Linked DNA regions of Homo sapiens: region 1 is linked to region 2. Evidence: promoter capture Hi-C in 16 types of primary human blood cells and fetal thymus (Javierre and others, 2016). All regions are on one chromosome and are shown on one strand. Each heading gives the region's core, a stretch centred on a gene start or on the middle of the fragment in contact. The rest is flanking DNA. Distances are from core to core; before and after follow the strand shown. Region 1 overlaps NONO (non-POU domain containing octamer binding). Region 2 holds the start of OGT (O-linked N-acetylglucosamine (GlcNAc) transferase).

Evidence for each region. The method cuts DNA at HindIII sites, captures the fragments that hold promoters and counts their contacts. A CHiCAGO score of 5 or more calls a contact.
Region 1: a contact is called between a fragment that was not itself captured here and the fragment with the promoter of OGT in region 2, in 3 of 17 cell types (fetal thymus, total B cells and naive B cells). The highest score is 7.1, in fetal thymus.

The regions. Positions count from the first base shown.
Region 1 is chrX:71,292,312-71,297,511 of GRCh38, reverse strand. It overlaps NONO (non-POU domain containing octamer binding), which reads right to left. Exons shown (of 12, transcript NM_007363.5): 5 at 2,984-3,285; 6 at 852-947; 7 at 465-661; 8 at 51-135. Among named protein-coding and RNA genes, the nearest start is that of ITGB1BP2, 6.8 kb to the left of the region's middle. The HindIII fragment of the contact is 894 bases long and covers 804-1,697 here.
Region 2 is chrX:71,531,563-71,538,255 of GRCh38, reverse strand. OGT (O-linked N-acetylglucosamine (GlcNAc) transferase) reads right to left here and starts at 5,152. Exons shown (of 22, transcript NM_181672.3): 1 at 4,920-5,152; 2 at 1,898-2,078; 3 at 184-427. The coding sequence starts at 4,956. RefSeq lists enhancers at 4,578-5,236, 5,062-5,401, 4,902-6,101. The HindIII fragment of the contact is 929 bases long and covers 4,799-5,727 here.

The DNA of each region.
Region 1 (5,200 bases), core at 1-2,500, 240 kb after region 2:
AGACATTACCTTTTAGAGTTGTTAGGGAAAAAGTGTTCGAGAAAAGTTACCTGAGCTCCAGTTGCTTTCGTTTTTGCACCTCTTGGTTGTGCAGCTCTTCCATCCTCCGAAGTTCTTCTTGGCGCCTCATCAAATCTAAAAAAACAACAGACTAAGAATATTCCTCATTGTCTTCATATAGATCTAATGACTTTCTTCAAATAAAGATCCAGAAAGCAAAGAGGATCTAATTCCTTTGGAACCACCTGTGGTGTCCAGATTCCAAAATGAAGTTATACCTATCATTTCCTTCTCCACAGAATCCAGTATCTCTGCCACATCTCCAAGCCTATTTATCTACCAAAATCAACGCAAACTAAGTATAAAAGCAGAGATGTAGGCCCTTCTGTTAATTGATACAAAGAAACCCATTTAAAAATGTCATTTTGTCCTTTCAGCTTTAAGACTTACAGGCCTAGACTCACCCTGTCTCATTAGCATGACCTGGTGCTCATGGCGTGCAGCTTCCATCTCCATCTCCAGCTTCTCACGAGCCTCCTTGATGTTGCGGTCCACTTGGTCCTGCTGCTGCTTCTCCATCTCAATGAGTGCCTTCCAGCGCATGGCATATTCATACTCAAAGGAGCCAGGCTGTGCAAATCTGGGTGGCTGCTCTCGTTCCCTATAGGCAAGGTTCCTAGGTTACTAACTTTGTCCAGAATTACCCCAGCTAAGAATTGCATTCCTTGTGAGGACCAAGATAATGGCTGCCAGTGAACATGTGCAGCAAAGACCTGCCTCTTTTACATATCCCTTTATAAGCTTTCTTAAGAAGGAAACACCTAATAGGGAAATCTATCAAGACTGCATACTTGTGAAATTGCTGGTTTTTTATAACCAGCTTCTCTGGAAGTCCCTCTTCATCATCTAACTGGTCCATGGGCTCCACAGTCACAGGACGAGGAAATCTGGAAGAAAGAACAAAGTTCAGTGTTAATCAAATCATACCCCACCAGGCTTCTTCTCTACACATGTCACTGGCACAATGAATTAGCTAGGGCTCAGGATTGGAGGCTTCTGAAGTTTTTATACCTAATGACATTATAAAAAATTTGGGGTTGGGCTGGGGGTGGTGGCTCACGCCTGTAATCCCAGCACTTTGGGAGGACGAGGCGGGTGAATCATGAGGTCAGGAGTTCAAGACAAGCCTGGCCAACATGGTGAAACCCTGACTCTACGGACGTCTGTAATCCCAGCTACTTGGGAGGCTGAGGCAGGAGAATCACTTGGACCCGGGAGACAGAGGTTGAAATGAGCCGAGATTGTGCCACTGCACCACTCTAGCCCGGGCTACAGAGTGAGACTGTCTCAAAAAAAAAAAAAAAAAGAAAAGAAAAAGAAAAAAGAAAATCTGGGGTTGACAGGACGAAATCAGGACTTAGATCTCTGAATACAGTCTCAAAAAGATATTCCAAGTAGGTAGGTGCAGTACTTAAGTACAGCCTAAACATCTACAGACACTCTGAGAAATGACTTGTGGTAAACACTAAGAGATACTGCAGGCACAAATCAACTTTTCAGAACTCTAAATCTTCAAAGTAAAGAGAGACTTAACACTGACTACATGACAACCTACCGAATGACTAAAAAGTTATTTTTCATAATCGTCATCCCACGTCTATTAATATAAGATTACAGAAAAATCATACGAGAAAGCTTAGTACCAAAAGTCTTTTTTTTTGGAAACGGAGTCTTCCTCTGTCGCCCAGGCTAGAGTGCAGTGGTGCAATGTCGGCTCACTGCAACCTCTGCCTCCCGGGTTCAAGTGATTCTCCTGCCTCAGCCTCCCGAGTAGCTGGGATCACAGGCGCCCACCACCGCGTCCAGCTACTTTTTGTATTTTTAGTAGAGACGGGGTTTCACCACCTTGGCCAGGCTGGTCTCAAACTCAGGACCTCGTGATTCACCCGCCTCAGCCTCCTGAAGTGTTGGTATTACAGGCATGAGCCACCATGCCCAGGCTAATACCAAAAGTCTTTTTTTTTGGAGACGGAGTCTTGTTCTCTTGCCCAGGCTGGAGTGCAGTGGCGCAATCTCGGCTCACTGCAAGCTCCACCTCCCAGGTTCACGCCATTCTCCTGCCTCAGCCTCCAGAGTAGCTGGGACAACAGGCGCCCGCCACCACACCCGGCTAATTTGTTGTATTTTTTAGTAGAGACGGGGTTTCACCGTGTTAGCCAGGATGGTCTCGATCTCCTGACCTGGTGATCTGTCCCGCCTGGGCCAAAAGTCTTTTTTTTTTTTTTTTTTTTGAGACAGAGTCTTGCTCTATCGCCAGGCTGGAGTGCAATGGCACAATCTCGGCTCACTGCAACCTCTGCCTTCCAGGTTCAAGTGATTCTCCTGCCTCAGCCTCCCAAGTTGCTGGGACTACATGTGCGCTAATTTTGGTATTTTTATTTTATTTATTTGTATTTTTAGTAGAGACGGGCTTTCAGCATGTTGGCCAGGATGGTCTTGATCTCCTCAACTCATGATCTGCCCGCCTCGGCCTCCCAAATTGCTGGGATTACAGGCGTGAGCCGCTGTTTTGCCCAGTCTTTTATTTATTTTTTTGAGGCAGTTTCACTCTGTTGCCCAGGCTGGAGTGCAGTGGCGTGATCTCAGCTCGCTGCAACCTCTGCCTCCTGGGTTCAAGCGATTCTCCTGCCTCAGCCTCCCAAGTAGCTGGGAATACAGGCACACGCCACCATGTTTGGCTAATTTTTTGTATTTTTAGTAGAGACAGGGTTTCACCATGTTGGTCAGGCTGGTCTCCAACTCCTGACCTCAGGTGATCCGCCTGCCCCGGCCTCCCAAAGTGCTGGGATTACAGGAGTCAGCCACCATGCCAGGCTGACCAAAAGTCTTTAAACATAGAAAAGTGGTTACTAGAGGCTAACTCTCCAGACCATGGAAGGAATTAGCAATCTAAGGTCTACGTCTGAAAATGACCCTCACTTACGTGGTTAGCAGGAAGGAGCCTTCACTGCATCTGTCCAGAGCTTTCCGAGCAGCTGGCTTCCCTGAGAACTCAACAATGCCTTTTCCTGAGGGCCTTCCTCGATCATCCACAATGACTACAGCCCTCTCTACCTGGCCAAACACAGAAAAGGCTTCTTCCAGCAGTTCGTTGGACACATACTGAGGAAGGTTTCGAACTGTAAGGGATGCACTATGGCAGGCAAAGCGCACACGCAGCTGCTTTCCACGGAGTGGCATATTGTCCAGCTCCACTTTGGCAATCTCCGCTAGGGTTCGGGTTTCCTAGGAAGCAGAGGAAAATCAGAATAACTCAGTTTGACAAAGAACACCTTAGCAGCCATCAACAGTCTAAAGCAGTATAGTTCAATATCTCCCCGGAAAAACTAAACAACCATACAAAGAAACAGAAGTGAAAGAACTTAACTGTGTGCTTCAGCTCTTTGGCCACCCTAGTTTGCTTCTGATGGCCTTGCAATAAATCACATGTAGTTCTAGAAGTCAATAACACTTAGGTGATCATCAATTTCATAGGTATTATTCTCCCAATGACAACAGATCATCCAGAAAACAAAGACCATTGGCCGGGTACGGTGGCTCACGCCTGTAATCCCAGAATTTTGGGAGGCCGAGGCGGGTGGATAACGAGGTCAGGAGATCGAGATCATCCTGGCCAACAGGGTGAAACCTGGTCTCTACTAAAATACAAAAAATTAGCCAGGCGCAGTGGCACGCACTGGTAGTTCCAGCTACTCCAGAGGCTGAGGCAGGAGAACTGCCTGAACCCGGGAGGCGGAGGTTGCAGTGAGCCAAGATCACGCCACCGCACTCCAGCATGGGCAACAAAGCAAAACTCCGTCTCAAAAAAACGAAAACAAAAACTCAAAGACCACCCTAAAACCACCTAGAATATTTTAGTTTTTTTTTTCGAGACGGAGTCTTGCTGTGTTGCCCAGACTGGAGTGCAGTGGAGCAATCTCAGCTCACTGCAACCTCTGCTTCCCAGGTTCAGGCGATTCTCCTGCCTCAGCCTCCTGAGCAGGTGGGATTACAGGCGCTTACCACCATGTCCAGCTAATTTTTGTAGTTTTAATAGAGACGGGGTTTAACCATGTTGGCCAGGCTGGTCTCAAACTCCTGACCTCAAGTGATCCGCCCACCTTGGCCTCCCAAAAAGTGCTGGGATTACAGGCATGAGCCACCATGCTCAGTCTAATTTTTGCTAGGTATGTACCAGAATCACGAATATCCTCCAAGAAGCCTCTTTGGAACCAGGAACCTTGACAGGATCCCTTTCATATTACTAAAGAGAAACCTGATACCCAGAGAAAAATGACTTGGCAGATTGGAATGAAAATCAGTTCTGACCACCCCATCCAGTGATCCTGCTGTCACATTATTCTCTTCCATTTATGGAGGTAGATAATGTCTAGAAATGTTTTCCTCTCATATACTTTCCCTAAATCGAACCAGATTTTAAAATAATGTCTACACTTACAAACGGTTAAGATAGTAAATTTTATGTTATGTATGTTTTACCATCATTAGTTTTTTTTTAAGAGACTGGGTCTCACTCTATCACCCAGGCTGAAGTGCAGTGCTATGAGCATAGCTCACTGTAACCTCAAACTCCTAGGCTCAATCAGCCCTATCAGCTTAGCCTAGTTGAGTAGTTAGACTACAGACGTATACCATGCCTGGTTAATTCAATTTAAAATAGTTTTTTAAAGATACAAATAAACCAGGCACCGTGGTGCGTTGCCTTTGTCCCAGCTACTCAGGAGGCTGAGGACAGAGAATTGCTTAAGCTCAGGAATTCAAGTCTAGCCAAGGCAACATGGTGAGATACCCATCTCTTGATCATGGGGGGACAAAATAGGGAAAGGGTACAGATAAAACAAAATTAACCACAACTTGATAATTACTGAAGCTATGCAATGCATATGTGCAGGTTCATTATTATTCTGTCTACTTCTATATGTTTGAAATTTCCTAATTAAAACAAAAAAGTTCCAGCCAGGTGCAGTGGCTCACATCTGTAACCCCAATACTTTGGGAGGCCAAGGTGGGTGGATCTCCTGAGGTCAGGAGCTCGAGACCAGCCTGGCCAAAACAGTGAAACCCCGTCTCTACCAAAAATACAAAAATTAGCCGGGTGTGGTGACAGACACCTGTAATCCCAGCTACTCAGGAGGCTGAG
Region 2 (6,693 bases), core at 3,903-6,402:
ATAAAACAAATATTTTAGCATAACGCAGACCAGCTAAAAGCAATTTCACCATTTTAAGTACATACGCATTTCTAAACTTTTGACTTTATTCCATGTGAAAACCTACTTTAGTGTCTGAAATATCACACTATGTTTCTTTCTGGGTTTCTAGGAAGGGAAAGTAACCATTAAAATTTTACTCACAGGATTGTACTGAAGAGCAGAGACGTAAGCTTGTACTGCCCCTTCCATGTCACCCGCTGCTACCAAGGCGGCTGCCAGGTTAATATAACCATCGATGAAATCAGGTTTGAGACGCAATGCATGTCGATAATGCTCAATTGCCTCCTGCAACTGCCCTCTTTCCTTGTACACATTCCCCAAATTCGAATAAGCTTCTGCCAGAAGGGGGTTCTGTTTAATTGCCAGAGTGCTAAAGTGAGCAGATCTGGAAAAGGCGACAAGTGTTAATGCATGGGTATGCACGTTACAGAAAAGAAGGTATGGCCCATATGCAACTCAAACAGTTTGAGATCTGTGCTATTGCTCATTATATAATACCTTATCTTTTAACTAGTGCATAGCAAGAAAAATTTGGGAAATCAAAGATTTTCAAAAGTGGAGGTATTCTAGATTTCAAAATGAAAAGCTTTTTCTTATTAAATAAAATTATTGGCTGGGCGCAGTGGCTCACGCCTGTAATCCCAGCACTTTGGGAGGCTGAGGCGGGAGGATCACCTGAGGTCAGGTGTTCGAGACCAGCCTGGCCAATATGGTGAAACCCCGTCTCCACTAAAAATACAAAAATTTAGCCACGCATGATGGCAGGCGCCTGTAATCTCAACTACTCAGGAGGCTGAGGCAGGAGAATCGCTTGAACCCGGGAGGCGGAGGTTGCAGTGAGCTGAGATTGCGCCACTGCACTCCAGCCTGGGTGACAAGAGCAAAACTCCACCTCAAAAAAAAGAAAAAAATTCTAACTAGAGTCTTGTTACAAAACTACCACATTGGCCGGGCGCGGTGGCTGATGTCTGTAATCCCAGCACTTTGGGAAGCCAATGCGAGCAGATCACCTGAGGTCGGGAGTTTGAGACCAGCCTGACCAACATGGAGAAACCCCGTTTCTACTAAAAATACAAAAATTAGCTGGGCGTGGTGGCACATGCCTGTAATCCCAGCTACTCAGGAGGCTGAGGCAGAAGAATCGCTTGAACCCAGGAGGCAGAGTTGCAGTGAGCCGAGATGGCGCCGCTGCACTCCAGCCTAGGCAACAAGAGCGAAACTCCGTCTCAAAAAAAAAAAAAAAAAAAAAAACCCACCACATTGGAAATCATGATCATTAAGATAAAAAATGGAAAGCTATGTGCACGAGTCTCATTTTCCATTTAAGATTTAATGATGCACATCTTTAAGTGTCTAAATATGCCAGAATAACAATTATTAAAAGGACAGGAACACAAATTCTTCCCTTTTGATTAATTCAACTGATTAACTAAAAGCAACACACCATAACAACTTAATGAAACTCCAGGTATGCATCTCCTGCCACAGCATACATAACCATCATTTCTGAGCATTTCAGTCCCTCAAACTGACAGGTCTCATGAAAGGGAGACTGGATGCTCAGATATACATTGATAATAATTTATTACCTGAACAGAGTCTAGAAAGCAGCAGACCCAGATAGAAAAATCTAGAAAAGGTCCCTAGTCATACTGATAATATAACCACCACCACAAAAGGAAGGAGAAAAACTGGCAGCTGGGCATGTCACAAGTGGGCAAGAGAGCAGATGTGCGTTGGCGGCTCAGTTGAAACCCGGTACTGGAAAAATTTCAAGTTCAAATATTTAAGTATCATTTTTCAAGCTCAGCACCCAGAGGCAGCAATCACGAGCAGGTACCCCAACATCTCCTACCTGTCCAGCCTTCGACACTGGAAGTGTATAGATGAAAGTAATAAAAGCACACCAGTATTGTCTGGCTCTTGTCTCCAGAGCTGCATGCAGTGTCTCTCAGCTGCCTCAAAATCTCCTGCCTGATATTCTCGATGTGCCAACTCAGCTAACCCTTGGAAGGAAAGCATACGTTTCGTTGGTTCTGGAGAATCATCAAAACATTTGAGGGAAGGAGGGGGGAAAACAAAAAGTTAGAAATGTAAACCAAAAAAATGTAAAAATATGGTATATTTAACTTAAAAATGGAAATGCTTGAAACTATGTAAAGCACTAGAGTGTTCTGCACGTTATGTATATCTTCAAGTTAACATCAAGTGCAGAATTGGCATTTTTAGAATTCACCCATTAATACTTTCTTTCCCAAACTAGAAAGGAATATTTACTTCCATATGAGATTACATTTTATGACCAAAAATACTTTGTACTTTTAAATTATAAATCATAGGTAGCATCTAAGGATTCACTGAACATTATTCCTTATACCTTAGTTAACATACAGAAACAAAATATTAAACGTGTGATTTGCAAGGTCACAAAGACTTAATAATATCAGAATAACATATTGGGAAACGTAATATTTTGTGCCATATTTCAGGTTGGATTTGTTGAGGTGGAGTACTGGTAACAATCTATCAATCTTAACCTCAGTGAGGACACCAGATGTGTTAATTCTTTAAATTATATCAATTTTTGTATATTTCAGAATTTAATTCTTTAAAAGGACAAGTAGAAACGAGCCTAAGGGAAAAACCAAAAAGTCAAAGTGCTATTTTTAAAACAGCTGATAAACAAGATGTTTGTCATTTGACAACAGCCAAAATAGTTAAAGGGGTCATCAAACATTTTAAATAAAGACCCAAGATTACACTGCTCCTCTACCATCCCAAACTCAAAAGGAGACTAAATTGGCTAAATCCCACCCACGTTGGTTTAGCACTAACATTTTCCAAACAGCTCTGGTATTGACTAAAGGATTAAGACATTGCAAACAAGCCTATATAAGCCAGGCAGTTACCTGCAACTGCAATGGTCAAAACGTTGGGAGGGAGGGAGGATGGACGCTAAAATATATTTGATAAAGCGCAACATAATGAATAAATAAAAGCACTTCGCTGCAAGTGACTTAATCCAGATACATAAAGATCTTTAAAGGATATAGCTAAAGCCCAGAGAGGGAAAAAAAAAAAAAAAAAACTGCTTGTCACAACTGTAAATACTTAAACTGGGAATTCGACCGTAGCACTTCACTAGCTGGTTGAAATGGGAAACCATGGACAAATTATTTAATTCTACCAAGGTTAAGGTGACTAGTTCAAATTTGAGCCCAGCTCCCCAATCATCAGAGCTGATGAGCGTTCCGGATACTGAGGAAAGCAAAGTAAATTTCCTGACAGAATGCACAGCTGACCACCAACACAAAGAGCATTGAGACTTGCATCCACATCTGGGAGAGGTTATATCTTTAATAGAAACTAAAATTACATTTTAGCTAAGTCTCTAGAACTTCCTAGCTCCTTGTTTTCACACATTACTTTGTCACTTTTCAATGCCGCTTATCTGCTATTTTAACACTTGAAACGACAGCTTTCTCAAATAAATAACACATTAAAAAGGGCAAGCTAGTACAGAATCCAGTACAGAATCTTAAACCTTTGAAAATCACGGTGGAGACGTGGGGAGAGGAGCACGGACTAATTATTAATCCCACTCCCTACAATTACGGATAAGACACTATTGACGATTCACCTACTACTTACAGCACAACTTCCAGGAACAGTAGCTAAAACCCTCCACACATCTCAACTGAGAAACAACCAAAAAATAACCTCGCGGGAAACCTCAGAAGCGCAGCCCAATTCCCCACCCCCTTCCGCCCAAATCGCCTCAATATGGAAAGGCAGCTGAAGGACACTCCTACAATTTGGTTGTTTTCGTATTTTCAGTACCAAATGCTCGCGACTGAAGTGTCTAAAAGGGCAACCGCCTTGTACTTGTGCAGCTACACTCCAGTTGCTTTACAAACTCTTCAAGCAGGGATGGAAACTTAAAAGAATATTACACCCTGTGAATAAAGAGATACTGGGCTGAAGAATGGGGATGGCAGACCCAGAGGCGGCGGCGGAGGAATACATCGAGAAAGTAACACAAAGCGAGAATTGGGCGGGCAGGGTGGTCAACGCCAAAGCAGCAGCATCGGGGTGGTTTCTCCCCCAAGGATAGGAAGTGAACAGGGCTGGCAACCTCGCGAAGGGAAGGGTGTGGTTCCCCGCGGACAGGGTGGGAAATCCAGGCTGAGGGCAGCGGTGGAATTGGGCGATGGCAAAGGAAACCCCTGGAAATTTCCAATCTAAACCGGGACCGCTCAACCGAAAGAACACCAGAAAGGCACTGCCTAGCAGGGTGCTGCTCAATGTCCCCTCTTCTCGAGGTGACTTGTGGCACCATCGACGAGCTTTTGATCGTCCTCGGGTGATGCAAAGTGAGGATATGATTACATCGGAACGGCACCCCCGCCCTAGATTGGCAGAGAAGGACCAAATCTGGCTAAGGGGAAAAGACTGGGGGGGGAGATGAAGGAGGAGATGGAGGGGAAAAAGGAGAGGCGATGAGCTGGAATTAGGGGAGAAAACCGCTGCAAAGGAGTGAAAGGGCAGGGATTCCAATGCAGTCCATTCCACGACATTCTAAGCGCGCACGTGTGATAAAAGCGCCTGGAGAGAGTGGAATGCTAGAACATTTACGAAATAAAAACAAAGCAAGAAAGGCAGCAAAAAGCAAGCAAGGGAGGAGGAGGAAATGTTCGGGAAGCGGACAACAGCGGAAAACCCGATGTGATCAGATGCCAGTAGACCACGAAAAGCTTAGCAATGTCACTGATGTAATGGGGATGGTTCGAGGGAAGGGAGGGAAGGAGTGATACAAGGTAGAGGACGGCGCGAGACCCCAAGGGGGCATCTGCCAAGGTAGAACGGGACACCGGTACCTGTGCTGTCGGCCACGTTGCCCACGGAAGACGCCATCTGGAGCTTCTCGAGGGAGAGCAAAAAAGAGGTAATTGGTCCTGCTGCCGCCACTACCAGCAAGAACGTATTTGGAGGTAGTAGTACAAGGGCAGCAGCCGTAGCAATGCTCTGGAGGGCTTGAGCGGCGGCAGCAGTTACAGGCTTCAAACCCTGGGAACTCTAATTGACCATCTACCTAGTACGGTCTTGAAATGGCGGCGACGGCTCCTCGGCCGAAACAACATGGGCCGGAACTACTTTCTGTTACAATCAAGTGCCCGCGCGGAGGTAGCCGGTAACCAGCGCCGCCAACAAAATGACTTCAAGCTGCAAAGTCGAGATTCCATGTAGTCCTCCGCGCAGCGCCCATTGCGACAAACACCACGGTGGAGACCGCGCATGCGAGCAGCCCTGTCAACCCGACTCGTGGTTAGGGCACTCTCTGGGGCGGAAGCGGCCAAGTTTCTTAAGAGTGTAGCGGAAGGGTAAAAACAAACACACACGGGACGGATACGTTTTTGCCACCGCGATTAAGAAGAGTGTTTGTTACTTAGCAGGTGGTGTCGTTTTAAACATAAATGCCAAAGGCGTCTAAAAAAGTTTATCAACTGTATTCGTACAAAAACGGATGGTTACGACTCTCACGGATCAATTCTGAGCCAGTCAATTCAGAAGATTGCCTCTCAAAGACAGCTGCTCAAAACGAGGAGCGAGAGGGTTCCGATTTGAGCCCGTCTTCATTGTGACTCGGCCATCGATTTCAGCACTTCGATGAAAAAGACTGAAGCTTTCACAGGGCCAGTTGAATGCAGACACCTTCAATGTTGGCCGTATAGCCTGAAATTTCAAAATCGTTTTGGTATTCAGAATACTCCTGCCCACGGTGATAGGGCAAATGTTTAATAACTCAGGGACATGCTGGGCGTTTGCACTCCGAAGGCAGCCATAAAAATGTTAAAGGTGATTCACGTTCGTCAAAATCCATGACTCTCCTCGAGTTGTGACTTCATTTCCACCAGCTAGCTCTGCACATTGTCACAGTCGGCGATTCCACTGAGCTCAAAGCAGATCAACAATGATAAATGAATTCACTTGCCATCTGCCTAAACCACACGTCTAGATTGAGTCATGAATTGCCTCTACTTCCTTGAACAAATCGGTTCTTACGATCTTCCTGCAGTTTCAAGTCTACTGTTCAGACATTTTGTCACATTGGTATTTATACTTCACCTCTTGTTCTAGAAACGACTTAAGGTAGCTTGCCACATCAGCAAGAAAGTATTACAAGCCACTGGAGGCTACAAGTTGGATCTCTGAGAGCCTTTTTATTTCAAAAAGTCCTTGATCTAAGAAAGCAGGTCAATGAATTTCTTCAAAAAGTTTTTGCTACCTAGCCCCTTCACTACATTTTTTAAAACTAAGTCCTCAAATTCTGCTTAAATTTCTTCAAAACAGTCAACAAACAATTAATTATGGAAATGGCACAGAGAAAATTCATAATGCTAATTTCTTCCATCCCATAATCAAGAGTCACATCATGCAGTGAAAAAGACAAAAATCACTACACAAACTCTCCTGAAAATTGAGCACCAACCTCTTGTAATTTGATTTAACTGGTAAAACCTCCCCCCCGCACACACACACCTACTACAAGTTCCCTATCTGTAATGAGTAAACTCAGCTTTTCAACTTTTAGAAGAGACTTCTCAGATTCCACTGGCAGATGTTTAGGCCTTGCTGATGAGCGGGTGCTAG